Linked DNA regions of Homo sapiens: all the other regions are linked to region 1. The links are contacts of gene promoters, found by promoter capture Hi-C in blood cells and fetal thymus (Javierre and others, 2016). All regions are on one chromosome and are shown on one strand. Each heading gives the region's core, a stretch centred on a gene start or on the middle of the fragment in contact. The rest is flanking DNA. Distances are from core to core; before and after follow the strand shown.

The links. Contacts are between HindIII fragments. The CHiCAGO score rates a contact against its expected background, and 5 or more counts as called.
Region 2: a fragment that was not itself captured here is called in contact with the fragment with the promoter of YIPF5 in region 1 in 5 of 17 cell types (M0 macrophages, M2 macrophages, naive B cells and 2 more); the score reaches 14.0 in M0 macrophages.
Region 3: a fragment that was not itself captured here is called in contact with the fragment with the promoter of YIPF5 in region 1 in 1 of 17 cell types (fetal thymus); the score reaches 5.5 in fetal thymus.
Region 4: a fragment that was not itself captured here is called in contact with the fragment with the promoter of YIPF5 in region 1 in 1 of 17 cell types (total CD4 T cells); the score reaches 6.6 in total CD4 T cells.
Region 5: a fragment that was not itself captured here is called in contact with the fragment with the promoter of YIPF5 in region 1 in 1 of 17 cell types (total CD4 T cells); the score reaches 5.1 in total CD4 T cells.
Region 6: a contact is called between a fragment that was not itself captured here and the fragment with the promoter of YIPF5 in region 1, in 5 of 17 cell types (total CD4 T cells, naive CD8 T cells, non-activated CD4 T cells and 2 more). The highest score is 7.0, in total CD4 T cells.
Region 7: a fragment that was not itself captured here is called in contact with the fragment with the promoter of YIPF5 in region 1 in 5 of 17 cell types (total B cells, naive B cells, total CD4 T cells and 2 more); the score reaches 9.4 in total B cells.

What each region holds. Positions count from the first base shown.
Region 1 is chr5:144,169,099-144,172,077 of GRCh38, forward strand. YIPF5 (Yip1 domain family member 5) reads right to left here and starts at 1,561. Exons shown (of 6, transcript NM_030799.9): 1 at 1,437-1,561; 2 at 748-867. The coding sequence starts at 857. KCTD16 (potassium channel tetramerization domain containing 16) reads left to right here and starts at 1,775. Exons shown (of 4, transcript NM_020768.4): 1 at 1,775-1,911. RefSeq lists an enhancer at 1,423-1,702. The HindIII fragment of the contact is 8,610 bases long and covers 1-2,979 here.
Region 2 is chr5:145,826,068-145,829,046 of GRCh38, forward strand. All of the region lies in intron 1 of PRELID2 (PRELI domain containing 2), which reads right to left. Among named protein-coding and RNA genes, the nearest start is that of PRELID2, 7.8 kb to the right of the region's middle. The HindIII fragment of the contact is 1,276 bases long and covers 806-2,081 here.
Region 3 is chr5:142,761,810-142,764,788 of GRCh38, forward strand. No RefSeq gene overlaps it. Among named protein-coding and RNA genes, the nearest start is that of ARHGAP26, 7.1 kb to the right of the region's middle. The HindIII fragment of the contact is 3,227 bases long and covers 1-2,979 here.
Region 4 is chr5:142,778,256-142,781,234 of GRCh38, forward strand. The region is part of intron 1 of ARHGAP26 (Rho GTPase activating protein 26); the gene reads left to right. Among named protein-coding and RNA genes, the nearest start is that of ARHGAP26, 9.4 kb to the left of the region's middle. The HindIII fragment of the contact is 1,974 bases long and covers 601-2,574 here.
Region 5 is chr5:142,887,605-142,890,583 of GRCh38, forward strand. All of the region lies in intron 5 of ARHGAP26 (Rho GTPase activating protein 26), which reads left to right. Among named protein-coding and RNA genes, the nearest start is that of ARHGAP26-AS1, 20 kb to the left of the region's middle. The HindIII fragment of the contact is 3,703 bases long and covers 1-2,979 here.
Region 6 is chr5:142,911,550-142,914,528 of GRCh38, forward strand. ARHGAP26 (Rho GTPase activating protein 26) reads left to right here. Exons shown (of 23, transcript NM_001135608.3): 10 at 1,650-1,744. Among named protein-coding and RNA genes, the nearest start is that of ARHGAP26-AS1, 44 kb to the left of the region's middle. The HindIII fragment of the contact is 1,944 bases long and covers 487-2,430 here.
Region 7 is chr5:142,931,087-142,934,065 of GRCh38, forward strand. It overlaps ARHGAP26 (Rho GTPase activating protein 26), which reads left to right. Exons shown (of 23, transcript NM_001135608.3): 11 at 961-1,039. Among named protein-coding and RNA genes, the nearest start is that of ARHGAP26-AS1, 64 kb to the left of the region's middle. The HindIII fragment of the contact is 1,148 bases long and covers 982-2,129 here.

The DNA.
Region 1 (2,979 bases), core at 311-2,810:
AGGAAGCTCCTTTATTTGACAGGAAGCTGATAAGATTATCTCTAGGGTCCTAAGAAACTAAGGAGATGATGTTTTAGGTGAGATTGCTAGAAAGCCTTCAGTTCATGTATTTTTGTCACAAACACCAGGTACTATAAAAAGATCATTTAAAAAAAAATGTTCAGAGGCTAACGGCTTTGAGTCAACCTCCTCAGTATGCAACTTATAACACGTGTGGCACTGACCATAAGGGTTTGAGAAGGAGGAGTAATAAAAATGATTATCAACTGCTGTATGAAAATCGCCTGATGATTCGTAATAAGGAGCTTACATCATTAAATAATGTCACTAAGCACTTTCAATTAGCACTGATAAAAGTCTCAGAGTTGGACTGATTTAACTACTAACAAAATACTTTAATTTTTCACTGGTCCTATGAACTAACAGCCTATCTCCTAGGTACCTGAAGCTCCCATCATCTTCTAAATACAGAAATACTGTTACTAGAAAACAGTTCTTCAAACAAGCTACTTTTCCATTCATGGTACACCTGAAGAGTTTGCAGAAGACACTCAACTCTTAAATAGAACAATACCTTCGAAGCCAAGCCAGTGTCACATATCTCTCTAGAGGAAGAAGATTATGCATGAAAGATCATACTCCTGATAAAGGACATGTTCACATATTGTTTTAGGCAGAACCAAATATTCTAAATATGTGTTTTCACTGCAATGTAGACTAAATTAATTGCCAAAGATGAAAAGTTACTTGCTATAGGGTCCTCCACTTCCTCCATAATCATAGGACTGCTGTGACTGATCATCGATGCTGTAACTTGTCTGGTAGAAATCCGTGTTTAAGTTTTCAAAGCCTGACATTGCAAATAATCTGTAATAAAAGAGAAATGGCAAATATTCCTTATGCCCAAGGTTCTACTGAATTCGTTCCTGGCAGTCTGCTTAAGCAAATAGAAACACAACAAATATTTTTTCAGTAATTCGGAGAGGGGATGGGGGCGGAAAGTACGCAGCATTTGAACGACGGTAGCGGAGAGAGAGTAAGAAAATGTATATTCTTTTAAGTTGCGGCCCAGTAAGACAACTCCACCTTAAAGAGCTGATATGCCTTCCATTAGGGGCGAGGTCGTGGGAGTTGTGGTTCCATAAGCGGTCTAAAATATCAATAACAACAAAGATGATTTTTCACCTTAGGACTGGGCTTTACAGCTGACAAGGCGACTGCTTCCTTGCAAAATAAGGCCTGCGGCCTGCCAGGAAAAAGTGCAGAATCTGGAAGGTCGCGCCTGAGGTGCAGGGGACCGCGTCAGGGCAAGGGCTTGAATGAGAGCGAGGGTCTGAGCGAAAGGACCAGGGCGCGGCGCCGAAAGACGGCAACAAGCCCATTTGCACGGGTGTGGAGAGAAGCTGAACACTGTGCCACGGGCCTGGGTCACTCACCAAACTCTGAGGCTGCGCTGGCGGCAAAGGCAGTAGCTTCACTAATCCCAAACAACCCCCAAACTCTGTTTCAGACCCTGAACCAGCCCCGTTGCTACGTGTCACAGGGCCAAAGAACGGCTTCCGGGGCACGCCCGCTCGCGCAGGCGTGTTAGCAGGTTGGGCACCGGTGGGCGGGAGGAGGAGACACGAGTATGGAGCTTGCGCAGTATCTACCCAACCTGCGGCTGGCCCGTGCCAAAGAGGAAAGTGCTTCCGGCAGCCTGGTTAGGGGTGGAACCAGGAAAGCGCAGGCGTAGCAATTGCTGCTTACTCGTAGGTAGGAGGAGGAGTTTCTCAGACCTAGGTGATGGAGGAAGACTGGGAGGCGCTAAAATGAGACAGACGGAGTCCCCTCTCCTGTCCACAAACTACAATGCCTACAATGCCTCGGTGTCAGCATTTACTGTGATTCAAGCACTGTGCTAAAGTGTTTGTATGTATTATTTAATCTTTACAACCTAATGAGATGGTTACCCTATTTCCCTTTTGTAAGTGAAGCTATTAAGTATTCATTCATTCTGTGCTAGCTGCTGGGGATACTGTGGTAAATATAAGCTAGGTGACATCTACCCACCTGGAGTTGGTGGTGGAGAGGGGTAATCGAACACATACAAATGCATGTGAAATTGCTACTAATATTCTTTAGTGTTCCATAATTCTTTGAAAGAGTAACATTCATCTGGGAAGAAGAGTCTGTAAAGCCACTATAAGAGGGTTATCAAAGGGTGAGTGGGAGTTAGAGAAGACCAGAAAAGAGAAGAAAGGGCAACGGGAAAGGAGGATAAGGGAAAATAGCCTGAATATTTTAGGCAAAGAGAACAATGTGTGCAAGATCTGGGAAGCATGGTCTGAGGAAAGATGAAAATCGAGCTCTGAACTTCAGCATTATTAACATTTTGAGTCAGGATGTTTCTTTATTGGGGGCTGCCCTGTGCATGATGCTTAGCAGTAGCATCCCTAATCTCTAGCCATTAGATGCCAGTACTCCCCCCAACCAACCACCACCACCATCACCACCAAGTTGTGACAGCTAAAAATCTCTCCAGACATTGCCAAATCCAAATGTCCTTGGGGGCGGTGGGGGCAACATTAGCTGAATTTGTCAACCACTCTTCTAAGTGGAACCTGAGTGACTGGAACAGCAAGTGAGGGGAGCCACATAGGAGTTGAGGCTGGAATAACAGGAAGGGGCCAGGAAATATCCTGTGGGATTTGTGTGTTGGTTCTAAAAGAAGTGAAGATTGTGAACTGATGAGTGATGTTTAAATTGTTTTCTTTTGAAAATGATTGCTTTGGCTCCTGTGTTAAATCACTTTCCCAAGATGGTGGAATCCCGAATATTGTGACTCGAAATAAGATGCTATTAACTAATGAGCAGAACTTTCTTCAGGGTTTATAGCAATAAAATTTATCATGAGCCACTGCATTATATTCTGGGATCAAAATCCTGAGGCCCTCACAAAAGAAGCCAGACCATTGTTGGGGACTAGTTTCCAAAGGA
Region 2 (2,979 bases), core at 194-2,693, 1.7 Mb after region 1:
GAATTGATCAAGCTGAATCAGGATCACACCCATCAAAGACTTAACTGAGCAGCTACTGTGTTCACGCAGGGTGCTATCCTAGAGAAGCTGCCATGCGCATGATCTCATTCAGTCCTTCTCAAAGCGTGGAAACCTATCAAGTATTAATATACAGAGTATTTCTGCTATAAATATAATAGTGTAAAGCCCGCAGACAAGCAGGTTCACATGGGATTCTTCAATCCCCATTTCATACTAGAGACTCTCATGAAAGCAATGTGATCTGAAGACCCAGATATCTGCCAAAAGCCCTTGTCTTTCTTGATCCTGGCTTAGCTGATCACAAACTGCAGTGTGCAAGAGAACGATCCCACAGGCTGCATACATATGCCATGTATGCTATACTACTTTATGGATGATTTAAGGGATTTTTAAAGGTATATTTGACTTCATTTTGCATTTCCTTATAATTTTTAATTTCTTCACAGAACGTGTAAACTAACTCCTTTTCCTTTCCCGAAGACATGAAACTACTACAAATACCACTGTATATATCATATGTATGTAACAGTCTAACAAGGGTAAAATGTAGACGTGCCTAAAGCTGTTGTATCTGCTTGCTTTAGTTTTTACATATTAAAAGATAAGCCAAGAACTCCATAATATTGGGGGGGAATATGCATTAAAGCAAACACATATATATAAAAAGTTAGAGGCAAGAAACTGAATCCATCTAATTACAGAATATTCAATATGTTTCTGGGAGAAGCTTCATGAAGATATAACATTTTGCATTCATATTTGCCGAGGGAAAAAAAAACCCATAAGCTTTCAGAAAGCCTACTCTTAAAAGAGTTATTAAAATATGAACTTTCCAAAAAGCTCAAAAGCCAATGCCTTTTTTTAATAACATTTGCTTCCCCTCTCAGAAACAGTCAGTGACATCCAAAGGAGTCACTGTCTACCAATTTACAAATGAGGTTACCAGAGAGAGTACAAGGAAGCAGGTGACTGACAGATCTGTCTGAAGAGTCCTTCAAAGAAGGCAAAGAAGACCTACAGTAAGTCTGGTATATTAACATACCCGTGTTATAAGCATTAAGGGAATCTGTTATCTAGGCTGCTGCCAAACATGTACATGCAAAGAGATGGGGCTGCTGAAAAGAGATTTGGTGTTTAGCAGCAGAAAGAAATCACCATGAGCTATGCCAAATTCCTTTTATGAGCTCCACACCATAGTCTATCTCAGAAGAAAAGCAAAGTTGATTTTATACCAAGACGAAACGAGTTATAAATTAATCAAAATTTCAATGATCAAGGACAAAACGTACTTAAGTTGAAAAGTATTTGGAATGGCTGTTCATTGGTCTTTCAATAGGATGATGAAATAGAAAGAACAAAGGGCAACGAGCCAAGACATGCAGACTACAACGCTGCCATCTGTGAGGTCGGGGTGATGAACCACCAGGTGATCATCCAAGATCCTTCTGGCCAGGAAAAGCTATGGTTCCAAACAAAGGCCAACCAACAGCACATCAGCCTCTTTCTTTCAAAAATGACCCAATAATCAGCAACGGCATAGTGAAGGTTTTGAAAAGACAGTTTTTCATTGTAACACAGAGGAAAATCCTCTTATCACAACATCAAATGTATGCATAAACCCAGTGCAGCTAAAGATACACTACAAATAACTGCCCAGCACTCTTCAAAATCACCATGGTCCGGAAATGCAAGGAAAGACTGAGGAACCGTCCTACACTGCAGGACACTGGCAGCTAAATGCAATGTGGGGTCCTGAATTGGATGCTAGACTGGAAAAACGATACTAGTGGACAATTGACAAAATCTAAATAGGGTCTATAGGTTAGTTAATAGCATTGTATCAGTGTTAATTTCCTGGTTTTAAAAAGTATACTGTGGTTTGGGGAAGCTGGAAAAAAGTATGTGGGAATTCTTTGTTTCTGCAATATTGTTTTTGAAATGTTTTATAAGTCAAATTATTTATAAATGAAAAGAAATAAAAAACAAAATTAAAGACACGATGTTAGAAAACAGTGAATTTTAGAGCCCAAGAGATCTGAATTGGAATCCTATCTGTGAGAAGCTTGGACAAATCACTTTAATCTGCCCTAGTTTCTTCATCTGTAAAATGAGAATAAATACTTACCTCAAAGAGTTGTTATAAGAATTAAAGGAAACAATTTAATTACAGTATAATACCTAGCACTGTGCAAGTAGAAAATAAATGTAGCTGGTTTTGCTACTAACAAATGAATCAACACTTTTGAAGACTTAAAAAGTTTCAAGATTTTGGTTTTTATCTTGCAATTTACTGTGGTGTGGCATTAAATACATTGCTGGCATCTATCTGCAATCCAAAAATACTTACACAATGATTTTAAAATGATTAGAAGATAATATATCTGATTTTCCTAGACTAATAAAAAACTCAGAAGCTCGTGCTTTACCAGTTCGGAATTTGTGTAAGATACAAGGCCTCCCTGACACTTCACTCCACACTAGCATTAGGGAAAGGGCTGCACCAGAGAAGTAAGAGTGCTGGAGAGAATATTTACTTGTTTTTAAAAAGACAACTGTTTCTAAATAGTTTAAATGCTTTCATGGATTTATAATTAAAATATAAATCTTGCCCCATACTACAATGTAATGTCTGCCATATGCCCCCAAGAAAGCCTTTATCATGAAAATTAATATATCCTCCTCTGTCCCTTTTGACAGTGAACTCCTTGAAGACAGGTCCATGTACTTAGATAGTGAAAAAAATCTTTTTTTTTTTTTTTTTTTTTTTTGAGACTGGGTCTCACTTTGTCATCCACGCTGGAGTGCAGTGATGCAATTACAGCTCACTGCAACCTCTGCCTCCCGGCTCAAGCGATCCTCCTAACTCAGCCTCCCGAGTACCTGGGACTACAGGTGTGTGCCACCATGCCCCGGCTAATTTTGGGGGTTTTTTGTTTTTGTGTCTGTGTGGTTTGGGGT
Region 3 (2,979 bases), core at 292-2,791, 1.4 Mb before region 1:
GGCCTATATCATCAGACCAGCTTTGGGAAGCACAGGAGTAGTTCACATTGTTACTTTTCAGGCAAAACAATCTTTAAAAATGTTTAGTCTTTATAGTGATAGAATGCTTTAGTTTGAGAATTTAACTGCTAGTAGCTTTTTTTTTTTTTTTTTTTTTTGAGATGGAGTCTCGCTCTGTATCCCAAGCTGGAGTGCAGTGGCGCGATCTCGGCTCACTGCAACTTCAGCCTCCCGGGTTCACGCTATTCTCCTGCCTCAGTCTCCCAAGTAGCTGGGACTACAGGCGCCCACCACCACGCCCGGCTAATTTTTTGTATTTTTAGTAGAGATGGGGTTTTACCATGTTAGCCAGGATGGTCTCGATCTCCTGACCTCGTGATCCACCTGCTTCAGCCTCCCAAAGTGTTGGGATTACGGGTGTGAGCCACTGCGCCCGGCCAACAGCTACTAACTTTTTAAAGTCAAAAATAGAAATATAGTGATGGGAAATTCCAGAAAAGAAATACAAAGGAAAATGGGGAAGTAAAGAAATCTGCCAATATTCACTCTCCCCTAACAGACATTGTATCCCATTCGCCCTGTGTTTAGATGGAGGATAATCCATTTTAGCATTGATTTTTCATCCTGGCTTCTCCATAGATGAAAAGAAGATCAGAATACTTTATCTATTGAAATATTGCCCTCTTCACTGCCACTAAGCCACCTTCAACAAACACATGCACTCACTAAAAACCACAGCATCATCTCAAAACCGGAGCCATCAAAAGAAATGTGAATTCCCATGGATGAAAAGCCCATCCATCAATAAGGATTCGAAGTTGGGAAGTGATAGTTTCCCACTTGCTTTAGAAAGTTTGCTAATGCTTCATGACAGACTTCCTATTTTGCAATAACTAAAATGACAGAAGACTAGAAATTATCGCTTTATCTTATATGTCCTTATTCCTGCAGTCTATGTTAGTGTTTATGTCCTAAATGCATTTTTTTTTTTTTTTTTTTGAGGCGGAGTCTCACTCTGTCACCCAGGCTGGAGTGCAGTGGCGTGATTCCGGCTCATTGCAACCTCCGCCTCCCAAGTTCAAGCAATTCTCCTGCCTCAGCCTCCTGAGTAGCTGGGATTACAGGCATGCGCCACCACGCCCAGCTAATTTTGTATTTTTAATAGAGAGGGGATTTCACTATCTTAGCCAGGCTGATCTCAAACTCCCGATCTCAAGTAATCCACCTGCCTCAGCCTCCCAAAGTGCTGGGATTACAGGCGTGAGCCACCACACCCTCCTAAATGCATTTTATAGAACACTATGCATAGGATGTAATGTTTGGGGGAAAAACAGGATTCTGTGCTCAAAGAACTACGAGAAATACTTGGTTAAGCAAAATCTCAAGGATTACTTAACACAGGATTTCTCAGGATCTATAATATGCTATTGTCCATTTAAAGCATATACTCATGTATAAGATTCAGAGGCAAGAAAGAGAGCAAGGCACATAGGAATGCTTGAGTTTAGGTTACTGAAGTGAACTAATTTATTTGGTCATTTTAGCACCAACAATTATAGAAGAATAGGCCAATTATTTTTATTGACCCAGATAATTCTGGGTCTCTGTTGAAATTGTCTTTGATAGTTTTCTGGTTTCATATCAGCTTTTGAACAGTTTATTTTTATCAATAGAGTGTCCTTTTGCTTAAATACTTTTCCTCATTTAATACATATTCCTGCCCTGTAAATGCAGATATCATCTTTTAATGTTTAAGAAATCATCCTTAAAACTATGATTTTCTAATGTGAAAACTGCCTAAGAACCATGGATTAATGCAGCTGCTGAAAATCCAAGAGGAGGTGAAACAATAGGTTTTATAATTAATGCATTATATCAACTAGAGTAGTTTTGACTTTGAGTAACAGGAAACCCCATTAATGTAGCTTAAACAAATAGGTTGTTTTTTCCCTCTTTATGTGATGAGTAGTTGGGAGGTGGGTACTCTGGAGATGGGTATTGTGGCTCGTGGGTGTCACCAAGCTACCTGGCTCCCTCTGTTTTCCCATCCAGCCATCCTTAGCATGTGATATTCATCTTCATGACTGCAAGATGGCTGCTGCTGCTCCATGCATTGCATCCACATTCAAGACAAAAAGAATAGGGAAATGAAGTAAGCAGAAGGTGTGTGTCAGCAGTTGTCTCTTTATTAAAAAAACAACAAGAACAAAAAAACACACAAACCTTTCCAAAGCCCCAGCCAATACACTTCCAAGTGTATCTCAGTGGTCAGAAAAGTGGCACATGGCCACCACCAGCTGTGTGAAAACCTAAGAAATTAAATTCTTTAGTTGGGCACATTGGGGTTCTGCTAGAAACGTAACCTAAGTCTGGAGCTAGACTACCTTTTGAGAATCTCAGCTCTGCCACTCATTAGTTATATGATTTTAGGTGATTCATTTCACTTGCCTCCCCTGTAAAGGGAGATAAGATAATAATAGGGTTGCTAAGTATTAATTGAGTTAATATTTTTAAAGTGTTTAGAACTGTATCTGGTATACAGTAAATGTTATATAAGCACTTTCAATAAATGAGTAAGGTAAAGAGTGAATATTAGGTAGAAAAGTGGCAAGCATGAAATAAATCATGAAAACTGAAAATAAAAGTATTGCTAACATGTAAAACTTGTGTAGAACAAATGCTATGAGTTTCACTAATTTCTTGAGCCAAAGAATGTTAAATAGGTGCTGCTACCTCCCTTAAAGAACTATGAGCCAGTGGCTTTATGAGGATAGATTATTCTTTTTTCTTTAAGGAAACTGAGAATTTTATGTCTGTTTCAATCAACTGCTTCTACATAAATTGTAGGGCCTGTGATTTAAAGCTAAAGCAAATTAGAGGCTTGTATAATTATTGACATATTTGGGACATACCAGCAACAAGCCCTGGAAAACCACATACAGCTCATAAGGAGCGATAATGAAATCGCTCCTCTGTCAT
Region 4 (2,979 bases), core at 338-2,837, 1.4 Mb before region 1:
TAACAATATGAATGAATGACCTAATCTTATAATGCAAAGACAAAATATTATGACATGGATAGTTCCTGAATACATTCTCATGCAAGCATCAAAGAGTATAGACGTATACAGTGTAAAAGCACCCCCTTTTCCTAGCTAACAATCATTGTTAGCAGTTTGGTATGCATTTTTTCTTGTCCTTTTTCTGCGTGTTTTTTTCATAAATGGGATTATACTATAAGGATTATTTTGTGTTTTGCTTTTCGAGTTGATCATTTGTCTTGAAGACCTTCCATGTCAGTACATGCATGTAGTGCATTCTTTTTAATGACTGCAGAGAGCTTTATGTGGATATGCCATAGTTGGTATTTACTCAGTTTCCTGTTGAAGGATATTTGGATTGTCTCTGTTGTTCACTATTAGAAGGCGTGCTGCAGTGATTATTTGCACACCTGCTTTTGTGTGTGGATTCCAGCATTTCCCTGAGATGGATTCCTTCAAGTGGAATGGTTGCTGGCTCCAGTTTTTACAAGCCCTTTGACATCTGTTGTTTAGGTCCTTTGCATCCTTGTAGCCGGTTGATAATTTGGTGCTCCTTTGAGTATGTTAGATTGTTTCTGAAGCTTAATCTTTTGGTTAAATCAGAAGCATCCTTAACAGACCCTTCTGTTAGACACTGACACTGATTTTAAAACAACCAAGGGATAGAAAAAAAAAAAAAACTTAGTGTGTGTGTATGTGTGCCAGGGAAAGAGAGATGACAATTAATTGGATGTGTCCCTATTAGCCCTGGAACTGCTTGATATGCTTTCTGAGTGGCATGTTCTTATAGGTCAGATGGGAGATGGGATGGGGCTTTGCCCATATCTAAGAGTCTATTCTAACCTCCAGGCTCAGGGACTAGGAAGGAAATCATGTTTATTTAGGGTGAGAACAACAGCATTAGCAGCCAGAGGAATTTTTACAAATTATAGTGACTGGGGTTTACACATTTTTGTAGCACCTCAGAATGGAGAGAGAGGAAATGGTAAGGAAAACAGCTTGGCAGTGTGGGCCACGAGCTGTCATGGCATGTTTGTGTCTGGCTCATTTCACCTTGATTGGAAGGCACAGAATGCTGCCCTGGGTAAGCTGGAGACTGGGCAGTTTCCTGCTATATTTAGAAAGAGGAGATTCCTGGGGTTAGGGTGGTGTGTGTGTGTGTGTGTGTGTTTTCTTTGCCAGATAGACAAAGGTTTGAGGGGTTTGTGAATTCCACACCAAACTGTTAACTAGCTGGTTTCTCTGGGCCAAGCCAGTAGCTACTCTTTGACTCTTGCTGCTGCCACACAGCAAAAGCTCAAAAAACTCCTATTTTATATGGTTTGAAAAGATACCGCTGGTAAGTTTCAAAACTCATCTGATCTTGCTGTCACATCTGCTTTTAAGTTTACTGCAGGCTAATTTGAACACTTTGAAAATATGAACTGCCTCCTCCTCTGAGACTTCAGATAGATCTCCAAGCTGACTGAGTTGAACTTTGGCTGTTTCTGTGCCAAGGAGACTGTCAAACAGATAGGACCAAAGCCTTAGCAAATTCCTGACTGCGTATCTCGTTATCACACTTGTGGGTCAGGGGTAGACAATGAATATTAGTCGAACAAATAAAATAAGGCATTTTTACTTTAACTCATAGCTATGTTTCTTTTTAAAAGGGTTGCCTAAATAGGTAATACCTATAAGTTGTTCATAATTCAAAAGAGACAAAAGAGAATGTGAATATCCCTCCAATGCTTCCTGTCTCCTGATCCCCACTTCTTCCTCTGGAGGCATTTTATTGGTTTCTTTGGTATTTTTCAGATGTAATTTATGCATGTGCCAACAAATACACATACACATTGTGCCATATGTGCTGTTTTACCCTTTGCTTTTAATATATTAGATATTATTCTACATTGGTACATAGAGAGCTCACTCATTGTTAGATTGCATTGTATTCTATTGTATGAATTAAATATAGTGTATGTAACCATTCCCCTAATAATAAACATTTAGATTATTTCCAACCTTTCACCATTGCAAGTAATGTTGTTGTGAACATCCTGGCACCTCTGGCATGAGGCACATGAGTGACAAATTCCTAGAAATGAAACTGCTGGACCAAAGGGTATGTACATTTTTCATTTTAATAAGTATTTCATAACAGTGTTTCTGAAAAGTTCTAAGTGAACTGAATTTGATAAACCATGATTTTAGAGTAGGAAGGAAACTCACCATTTTAGACAGTTTATTACAGAATGGTCTCTGTAAATAAAACAATACTTAGAATTTTCTCCATTTTCCCCTTTCCAGTTTGTGTGTATTGTTAATTCTGGGATTAAAAGCCACAGCAAAAATCATTCCCTAAACTGAGACAGCTGTACCTAGAAATCAGTTGAATGTAGGATCCCAGAGACCTTGTTTGTGTTCCTAGTGATGGTGCTGTTGAGTTTTTATCTTTGTGCGGTGCGTGTAACATTCAGGAGATTCGGCAGGTTTGTTGAAGGAGGGCAGTCTTCTGCCTTCTGTGACCGGAGACCGTGACTCTGGTCTAGGGGACACGTTGCCTATCATAGAAGCTTCCCGGTGGGCACTGGAATTCCTGGGAGCTGGTGAGGGAGTCGGGAGTTTTGCATGACATCTCTCTCTGGCAGCTTCTCCTGCAGAGCTTAGCACTTTTCCCTGATAGAGGACAGGATCATGCCACATGTCCTCTGCCATCTCTGTTCCAGCTCCTGTTGATGTAGAAGGCTACATTGGCCAGGTTCCTGGCATGAAGCAGGCACAGTCCTTGTCTCCTAGATGCTCACTGTTTTGAGAGGAGGCAGGGAAACAGGCAGCCCACAGCACAAAGGGGAGATTGCTAGCAGTTTAAAAGGGCCTCTGGGGGAGGGAGCAGAGGCCTGTGGGAAAGGCAACTGAAGGCTTATCGAGCCCAAGGGGGCAGTGTGGTCACTAATGATCAGTCATGTGAAGGGTACC
Region 5 (2,979 bases), core at 344-2,843, 1.3 Mb before region 1:
GACCTAGTCACACTTTCTAAGTACTTTGAGTGTAAGGATTGGGTTCCAGATCTTGCAGGTTCTGGTCTGTTCAGGTCAGTTCTCAGGCATTGCTTTTTAGTTGTAACTGAACTAAATTAAACTGTATAAAAATCTAACACTAAAGAGGTAAAGAGATCGAGACCATCCTGGCCAACATGGTGAGACCTCGTCTCTACTAAAAATACAAAAATTAGCTGGGCATGGTGGTGGGTGCCTGTAGTCCCAGCTACTCAGGAGGCTGAGGCAGGAGAATTACTTGAACCAGGGAGGCGGAGGTTGCAGTGAGCCACAGTCGCGCCACTGCACTCCAGCCTGGGCGACAGAGTGAGACTCTTTCTCAAAAAAAACCAAAAACCAAACATCAAAAAACAAACAAAAAAAAGAACAGTGATGATATTACTACTGCCACTAACCACATCAATAGCAACTATAATATAGGGAAACATTTGTTGAATGCATATTTATGGCCTGGGTATGGTGTTAAGCACTTTACATGGAATCTTCTGGAATCCTCACCCTAAGAGGTATAGATGTGGTTACTACTCTGTTTTACACATGAGGAAACTGAGGCTCAGATAGGATAAATAGCTTAGTGGTAGCGAGTTAACTCCAGCACTGGCTGTGCAGCCCTTTCCCTTCACCCAGTTTGCTTTTCTACGTCTCTATCTGGGGAGGGATGTTGAGGCTCTCTTGCCTGCTGACCATGTTATTTAGTGCCAGTGTCATGATATAGAATTAGAGAGAGGGAAGGACCTTAGTGATCATCCATTTCAACTTTCTTGAATTACGTTTTATGAGGGAACTGAGTTTCTCGTAGGGGTCAGGTGTTTTGCTCAAGGTGTTCAGCTATGTATTGATCATTTTCTTCACATTTATTAAAAATTCAACTTTTAGGAACATTGTTGAGCACGTGGTACACCTTTGATGAAACCTTCCACTCTGATTATCCAGAGTTGTTCCCTGATTGCAGGGTTCTGCACGGAATGCTTTTAAATTCCAGCCCATCCCTAGATCCCTGGAAGTAGAAACTACAGGGCAGTGATGTGGAATGGCACTGCCATCTAGTGGATGATTTAAACAAATGCATAGTTTTTGAATGGTAAAAAAGCTCGCCTCAAAAACAGTAGTCATTGATTCAACAAATACTCACTGGACGCTTCTGTAAAAGTCTGTCCAGGCACTGGGTGTTTTGTAGAAAGTGAAATGAAGGATCTTCTTTCATGGAAATTACAATCTAGGAGGAAGTCTCTTTTCCAAGAAACGCAGAATGGTTGACGGGTTTAATCAAGCCGGTAGATTTATAGCTTCTCAAGTGGCAGGCAGGGAAACTGTCTTGAGCGGTCTGCAGGGTGGGTTGGGATCCTGGCTTATAATTCCATTGCAGGGGGCCCAAGGATGTGATGGATTCTGTGGCCCACACCATTCTGGGGCATTGGCAAGAGAAGCATAACATTCCGCTTAGGATTTCTTCTTCCTTTTCCTTTGGGAATGCATTGAGTTATGCATTTGTTCTTAGTTCTGGGTCACTGATGGGACATGCCTTTGGTGCTGACTGATGGCCACATGGGGATCAATTCATTCATTCTGCATGCATCTGTTGAACGTTTATTATGGGCCATACACCGTTCTGAGCACTGGAGGAGAAAAATGAAAAAATTAGACGAGGTCTTTGTTCTCATGGACTTTATATTCTAGTAGTCTAGTAGGCCAGGCACGGTGGCTCATGCCTGTAATCCCAGCACTTTGGTAGGCCAAGGCGGGTGGATCACTTGAGGTCAAGAGTTTGAGACCAGCCTGGCCAACAAGGCGAAACCCTGTCTCTAGTGAAAATGCAAAAAAAAAATTAGCTAGATGTGGTGGCACGCGCCTGTAATCCCAGCTACTTGGGAGGCTGAGGCAGGAGAATCACTTGAACCCAGGAGGCGGAGTTTGCAGTGAGCTGAGATCATGCCACTCCACTCCAGCCTGGGCAACAGAGCGAGACTCTGTCTCAAGAAAGGAATAGATAAGAGTTTAAATTGGGAGATGAGACAGAGATTTCCTGGTAACCTATTTAAAATAACATAGTCAATGAAAGCCTCTCCTAAAGAGGTAACATTTAAACTGAGCCCAGAAGGAATGAGCTAATGAAAGGCCAGGACAATCTTCTTCAGGTTGTGAGTGTGTCGCAAAATCACAGTTTTTGGGTTATGCAATAGGGTAGGCTAAAATAGAATGAAAAATACAAGGCCTGGCGCGGTGGCTCATGCCTGGAATCTCAGCACTTTGGGAGGCTGAGGTGGACAGATCACCTGAGGTCTGGAGTTCGAGACCAGCCTGACCAACGTGGAGAAACCCCCATCTCTATTAAAAATACAAAATTGGCCGGGCATGGTGGTGCATGCCTGTAATCCCAGCTACTTGGGAAGGCTGAGGCAGGAGAATATCTTGAACCTGGGAGGCGGAGGTTGCGGTGAGCCGAATTCGCGCCATTGTACTCCAGCCTGGGTAACAAGAGCGAAACTCCGTCTTAAAAAAAAAAAAAAAATATATATATATATATATATATATATATATATATATATATATATATGAAAGTGCATTGCATTTAACCATTATAAATGTGTGTTTATTGAGTCATAATATAAAAAGTATTTCTTACTCTATGTTGAAGTTAAAATGTGTGTTTATCTAGGAGAAGAGGTTTTTGGGCAGAATGAACACCAGGTGAAAAGGTTGTGGGAAAGAAAGCGGTTTGGAGTGTTAGAGGACAGGAAGGAGATCCAGCAGTTACTCATGTCACCATGCTGGAGCATGGTGACAGTGGGTTAGGATGGGAGGAGGTGAGGCTGGAGGGTTGGGCAGATTATTACACAGGGTCTTGCAGACCATGGTAGAGGCCATGAGAAGTCCTTGAAGGGGACCATGAGACCATCTGATTTAGATTTTAAGGAAGATATTCTGGCTCCTGTGTGCAGA
Region 6 (2,979 bases), core at 209-2,708, 1.3 Mb before region 1:
TAAGTGATATCCACGTCCCCCACTTTTTAAAGCAATCAATAGTTGAACAGACCATCTTTATAGATTTTTGCTGATATGGTATGGTCATCCTTGGAACAGAATATTAATCTTCCTCCTCTTTCTGCATGTATTTGGTGATCCTTTATATATCCCTATTCCCTCCCATTTCTCTGGGACACCTCATGTAATCTTTCAAAGTGGAAGCTGGTCCATAGCCATTAAATCAGATTTATAGTTAGACATCAGCAAAGTCAGAATCTCTTATGTTTGGGTGTTTGCACTCAGATATTTTACAGACTAGAGAAAGAGCAGTTCTGTCTGAGAAATTAATCTTTGCTATTCAGTGGAAGACAATAGGTATAAGGCCTGTGAATATAAACTGTCTCCTCCTAGGCCTTCTGTGTTTTGTTTGCTCTTCTGATATTAGTGGGTGGTTAAATTTTACCTTATGTAGCCACACTTTCTGTTATTTCAACAAACTGGGCAAGCTTGCTAATTTCCCCTGTTAGTTTAGATAAAAAAGATTGACAGAGGCAGGAGAAACAGAAACCCTAACAAATTCCTAAGTGACAGTAAGAAGAAATCAGGGACAGCAACTTCTGTGTTTCTGGGCAATAAACTAGTGCTATGAGATGAAATTGTCACATTCAGTTGAACAATGGAATACTACTCAACAATAAAGAGAAATAAGCCCTTGATATGCACAACAATGTGGATGAATAGCAAAGCAATTACGTTAAGTGAAAAAAGCCAGACAAAAAGAGCACATACTGTGTAGTTCCATTTATATAAAATTATAGACTATGCAAACTAATCAATAGTTACAGAAAGCAGATTCAGCGATTGCTTGGGGATGTACTAGGAGGAGGGATGGATTGCCAGGGGATACAAGGAAACTTTTGGGGATGATGGAATTGTTTGCTGGCTTGGTTGTGGTGTTGGTTTCATGGATGTATATGACATCAAAATCTATAAGTTGTACAGTTCAACATGTACAGCTTATACCTTAATCATATGTCAGTAAAGTTGTTAAAATGTATTTATTGAGGAGCTACTCTTTTCTAGGATCCAGTTGGGCCCAGGAGACAAAAGTAAGCAAAATTTGACCCAGTCTCTGTTCTCAGGGTCCTGTGGTCTAATGGAGAGAGAGACATTATTGTATTCATCACCTATATCAATGCGCAGTTTCAGCTATGGTCAGTGCTGTGATGGAGGGAGATGTACATGGTGCTTTGTGAACACGTTCTGGGGATATTTGTTCTGATCCAGGAAGATTTTTTTGGAGAAGTGATGACCAACCCAAGATCATAGAAGCTCAGAGTTAGGAGGAGACCATCTTCTTCTACTCTTATCAAACCTGCAAATTAAAACAATGTCAACACTCGTTTATCTACCATGGACAGATGCGGTGCCATCATGATCCACCCGTACTAAAGATGTTTGGGTCCAAGTCTAACATGGTATACGAATGTAAGCTGCATGAGGCTTTGTCCTGGAAAGGTTTATAGTCACCCTTCCACTGCCCATGGTCATGAGCACTCAGATTTGAGAAGATGAAATGATTGCTCCTGTTTACATGTCATGTATGTCCTGGGAGGAGTAGAGCTCCCATTCTGGCCTCATCTTGATAGTCTGTGTGTTCCCACTAGGGAGAAGATGAATCAGTTATCCTCAAATCCTGCACACGGCGGAAAACAGACTCCATTGAGAAGAGGTTTTGCTTTGATGTGGAAGCAGTAGACAGGTGAGTAGCTAGCATGCTTTTCTCAGGAGCAAATAGAGCTGAATTTCTATATCTTACTTTTTCTTTCCAGTCAAACCTTTTCTGCTTTTTTCCCCTTCTCCCCCTCCCTCCTTCCTTTCCTTCTCCCCCTGCCTCCTTCCTTTCCTTCTCCATCCATTCATCTATGTCCAGGGTGCTGGATCCAGGCTATTGCTGATTTGCGAGAATCATTAGAACCTCCCTATCTTTTGGGTTCAGCACTGAATCACTGGCTTGGTTTTGTTTTACTTTAATATTAGTGCTTTCATGCTCAGAAATGTGTGTTATATCTCCAGGAGATTGAGTAGTAGACTTTTAAAGAAAAGTATTTAGCATGATTGTATCAGCTATTTGAATTTTTTTTAACTGAAAAAGTTAGTATAATGATTCGAAAGGCATTGAAATGGAAGAAATTTTTCTCAAATAAAAAAACAGCTTTTAGTTACATTTCACCTACCAGTGTGTGTGCGTGCCCAGGAAAGACACCAAACCACTCGTGAAATCACAATTTTTTGGAGAGAGAGCCGTGTGTTGTATTCCTCGAGATTTATAGAGTCTCTCATTAAGTTGTACCATTTCGTGGTGTTAAGCTAGTTTGACAACATTCCAATTCTTTGAGACACTTTACTTGGCAACAGGTTAATTTTTTCAATGAAACCCACGTGTTAAGCTTATTTGAGCTGCCTGTTCAAGATCAGGAATGCTAGCACCAAGATCCTTAAATCTCAGCATGATACTCCGTATAATGCCATTTAATCTCTTCCTTTTATTAAAAAAACATTATACCATTTCATCAAGCCAGTACTCACCCCTCCCTGGGAAGTTCATCTGTGGCCACCTTTCCCTGGCTCTATGGCATCCTGAGACTGAGTACTGCCTGGGGTTGCACTGCCTTCTTCTGGCAGGTGTCTACTCTGCACTGCAGGCTGCTGGGGCTGCTGGAGGCTGTTAGGCCTCCCATGGAGACAGCGTGCCCCCTTAGCCTTTATCAGAAATTCGTGGAAACTAACTGCATCTCTTAAGCAATTTAGTCATTACATCTTTGGCTGTCAAGCCAGACAACCTGGGTTCAAATTTTGACTTTGCTGCTTAGTAGCCATGTGACTTTGAGCAAATTACTTAATCTTTTGGAACCTTGATTTTCTCACCTGGAAAATGAAGTTCCCAGGATGGTTATAAGGATTCAAGGAAATAATGCATGTAAAATGCTTGGCAGA
Region 7 (2,979 bases), core at 306-2,805, 1.2 Mb before region 1:
AAAGAGGATGGTTTTAACTAGCAATTCTTAACTTTTTGAGGGTTGCAGTTCTCTTTGAGAATCTGACAGACAATTTGAATTGTTTCTACAGAAAAATCCACATACATTTGAGGGAGAGGAGGAGGTGGTTTGGGGACACTCTGGGATCTATTTTCACCCTAAATGAAGAACTCCTGCTTTAATGGGCATAGAGGGCTTTCAGCCGCTTCTCCCAAGGTCGTTTTTATGGCGCAGTCTCTTTTTCTTGCGGAGTACCATTTGTGATGGGAACTGAACAAAACCCATTTGATATTGTATGCATGTCTTCTGGAGGGCTTGTGCTCAGTTTTAGAGAGCAAGCAGATTTCAGTGAGTGAAATGATCTCATGCATGTAAAGCACTTAGCACCTGACATGATTAAGTATTCATTTTTAAAAAATACTGTGCACATTTAATCATAACTACCAAGATGATGACCACCATAAAACTTCTCCATGTCTGAAGCAGTTTAGAAGCAGTGGACTAGATATTAGGAGACAAGCATGCCTCCAGGTTGGATATTTTCTCCTCTTTTTTTTATCTTGAGTCCAGTAATTCCATTCACTTCCACAAACATTTATTGCATTTCTACCGTGAGTAAAATACTCTGTTAAGCGTTTTGAGGTCTAGAAATGAATAAGATTTCAAGGAATTGAACAACGTCTAAAGGCATCACTTAACTCCTCTACGTCCCTTACCTGTAAAATAGGATCATGTCTTCTGTGTTTCTGCCTCTCTGAGGGAGATGGGCTGACTGAGAGGAATTTGGGCCATCCTTTCTGAGAGTAGAAGGTGGCTTAGTAAAGCCGAGTGTTTTGCCCCTCTTTGTGTTGTTAACCTTAGCAGCCACTGACTCTTTTGAGTGGATGTTTAAGATTTGCCTTCACCAATCTCTCTACATGTGGCACTGGTTTCATATCCATGTCCCTCCTTTCTCTGCAGGCCAGGGGTTATCACCATGCAAGCTTTGTCGGAAGAGGACCGGAGGCTCTGGATGGAAGCCATGGATGGCCGGGAACCTGTAAGTAACAATTCAGGGAAGTAGAGCAAGAATGAAGGCCCTGAGTTGTTTGTTGCTTCCCTAGTGCAGTGATTTTTGCTGCTGTTCTAAAGCCTTGGGTTCTTGAAACCAGTGTACCAGAGGTGGTTTTTTATTCCTAGGTTTATGTTTGTGGATATTGATATTGCTTCTGTATAGATGTAGTTCTTGAGCTTTGGCCTCTCTGTCCTAAGGCATGGCTTCTGCATAGAATTACACCAGAACTCCCATCTTTTATCATTGACTTCTGGTTCAGCCTCCCGTAGTAACTTACCTCCCCTTATAAGCAGCGGGACATTATCAGGATGGATGGAGGGAGGTGAGCCTGGTAATATGATCCCTGCTGCCATTTCAGCGATGCTGGCCTCAGCTGGGTGATGTAATCTTGTAGTTGTTCTGCATCTTGTGACGTGTAAAATCCATAAGAGCCCTGGAATCACTGTAGTCGTCTTATCTTAGTTCCAAGGATCTCAACTCCAGTGTTCAGCAAATCTCAAGGTTGCAGAAATTGTAAGAGTACAGTCTAACTATGTGCCACCAACAAAAGAGAAAAAGAATCTACAATGCCAGAGGGCCAATAATTGATACTTACACAGGTACTGTCCAAAGGGAGGAAATGTGTGCAAGGAAGAAGTAGGCCATGGGCTCCATTGACTATAGAACTCTTTGCGTCAGGCTGGATAATGCCAGCTGATTTGTGTGTGTCTTTCTCAGCTTACCCTGATGAGGTGGTCTGGCAACATAGATTATGTACCTTTCTACTCAGCCATATTTTATACAAACATGGGACGTAGTCAACTAGGCATAAAGAAATAGCTAGTATTGTATGACATTTAATAATATAGAGCAAGATCTCTTAAAGATTTAAATAACTGATGATTTAGGCACAGTTTGCTAAACTATAATTAAGCATTGTTTAATCTTAATTCTTCTCCTGGGCTAAAATATAAGATAGCTCTGATTATCTCTGTATACGTTGTTACCCATAGGAACCCTCAAAACCAGATACACATTTCTACCTTTGAGGCTTTATGGGCACAATAGCTATTTGATGTCAAAGGCCTTTGAAAGAAGCTTCCTAAGTAGGTCTTTCTTTTTGCTAGCATTATCTACCATTTGTTGAGCACATTTTTACATGTTAGGCACAGGACTGAGCACATTACATCTCTTAACCTGTTTATTTCTCTTAGCACTTAATGAAATAAGTGCTGTGATTCCATTTTATAGATAAGTAAACTGAAGCTTAGGGAGGTTAAGTAACTTGCCCCAAGTAGCACAGATAGTAAATGGCTATATTAGTAGGGTACAGGCTAGGTTGCTATTAACAGAGAGACTCTGAAGTACGGTGGCTTATGTAAGATAGATAAGTGTATTTCTCTCTTAGAGCCGAGAAGGGAGGAGTCCATGCCTAGTAGGGTCATTCTGCTATCCTCAGCCCATGGCTTCCCACATTGCTCCAGTCATTGCCATTTTCCAGCCAGAAAATGAGGATGAAAGCATTTCGAAGGACCCAGAAGATGCACATGTCACTTCCATTGGCTCAAACATAATGGTACAGCCATATCTACCTGCAAAGCAGGCTGGGAAACCTAGGCTGTACATAGGCAGTCATGGGCCCTGCCAGGACCCTGGACATGTTATTACTTCAAAGAAGAAGAGGAGAAAGGATACTGTGAATAGTTGGCAGTCTCCATCCTAGTGGCAAAGCTAGAATTTGACCCATGTCTAATCCTAGACATATTTGGTTTTCATCTTTAATGGAGATAAAATTTAAAATTGCCTTCGAAAAATTCTCAGTTCATTTTTACAGTACTTTCACTCACTCCCTTGAATGATTCTTCAACTCATAGGGGAGGAAGTGCCCAGGAAGAACAATCCTGTATGGGATTCTATTCTTGGTATGGGCAAAAAAAAGCCAAATT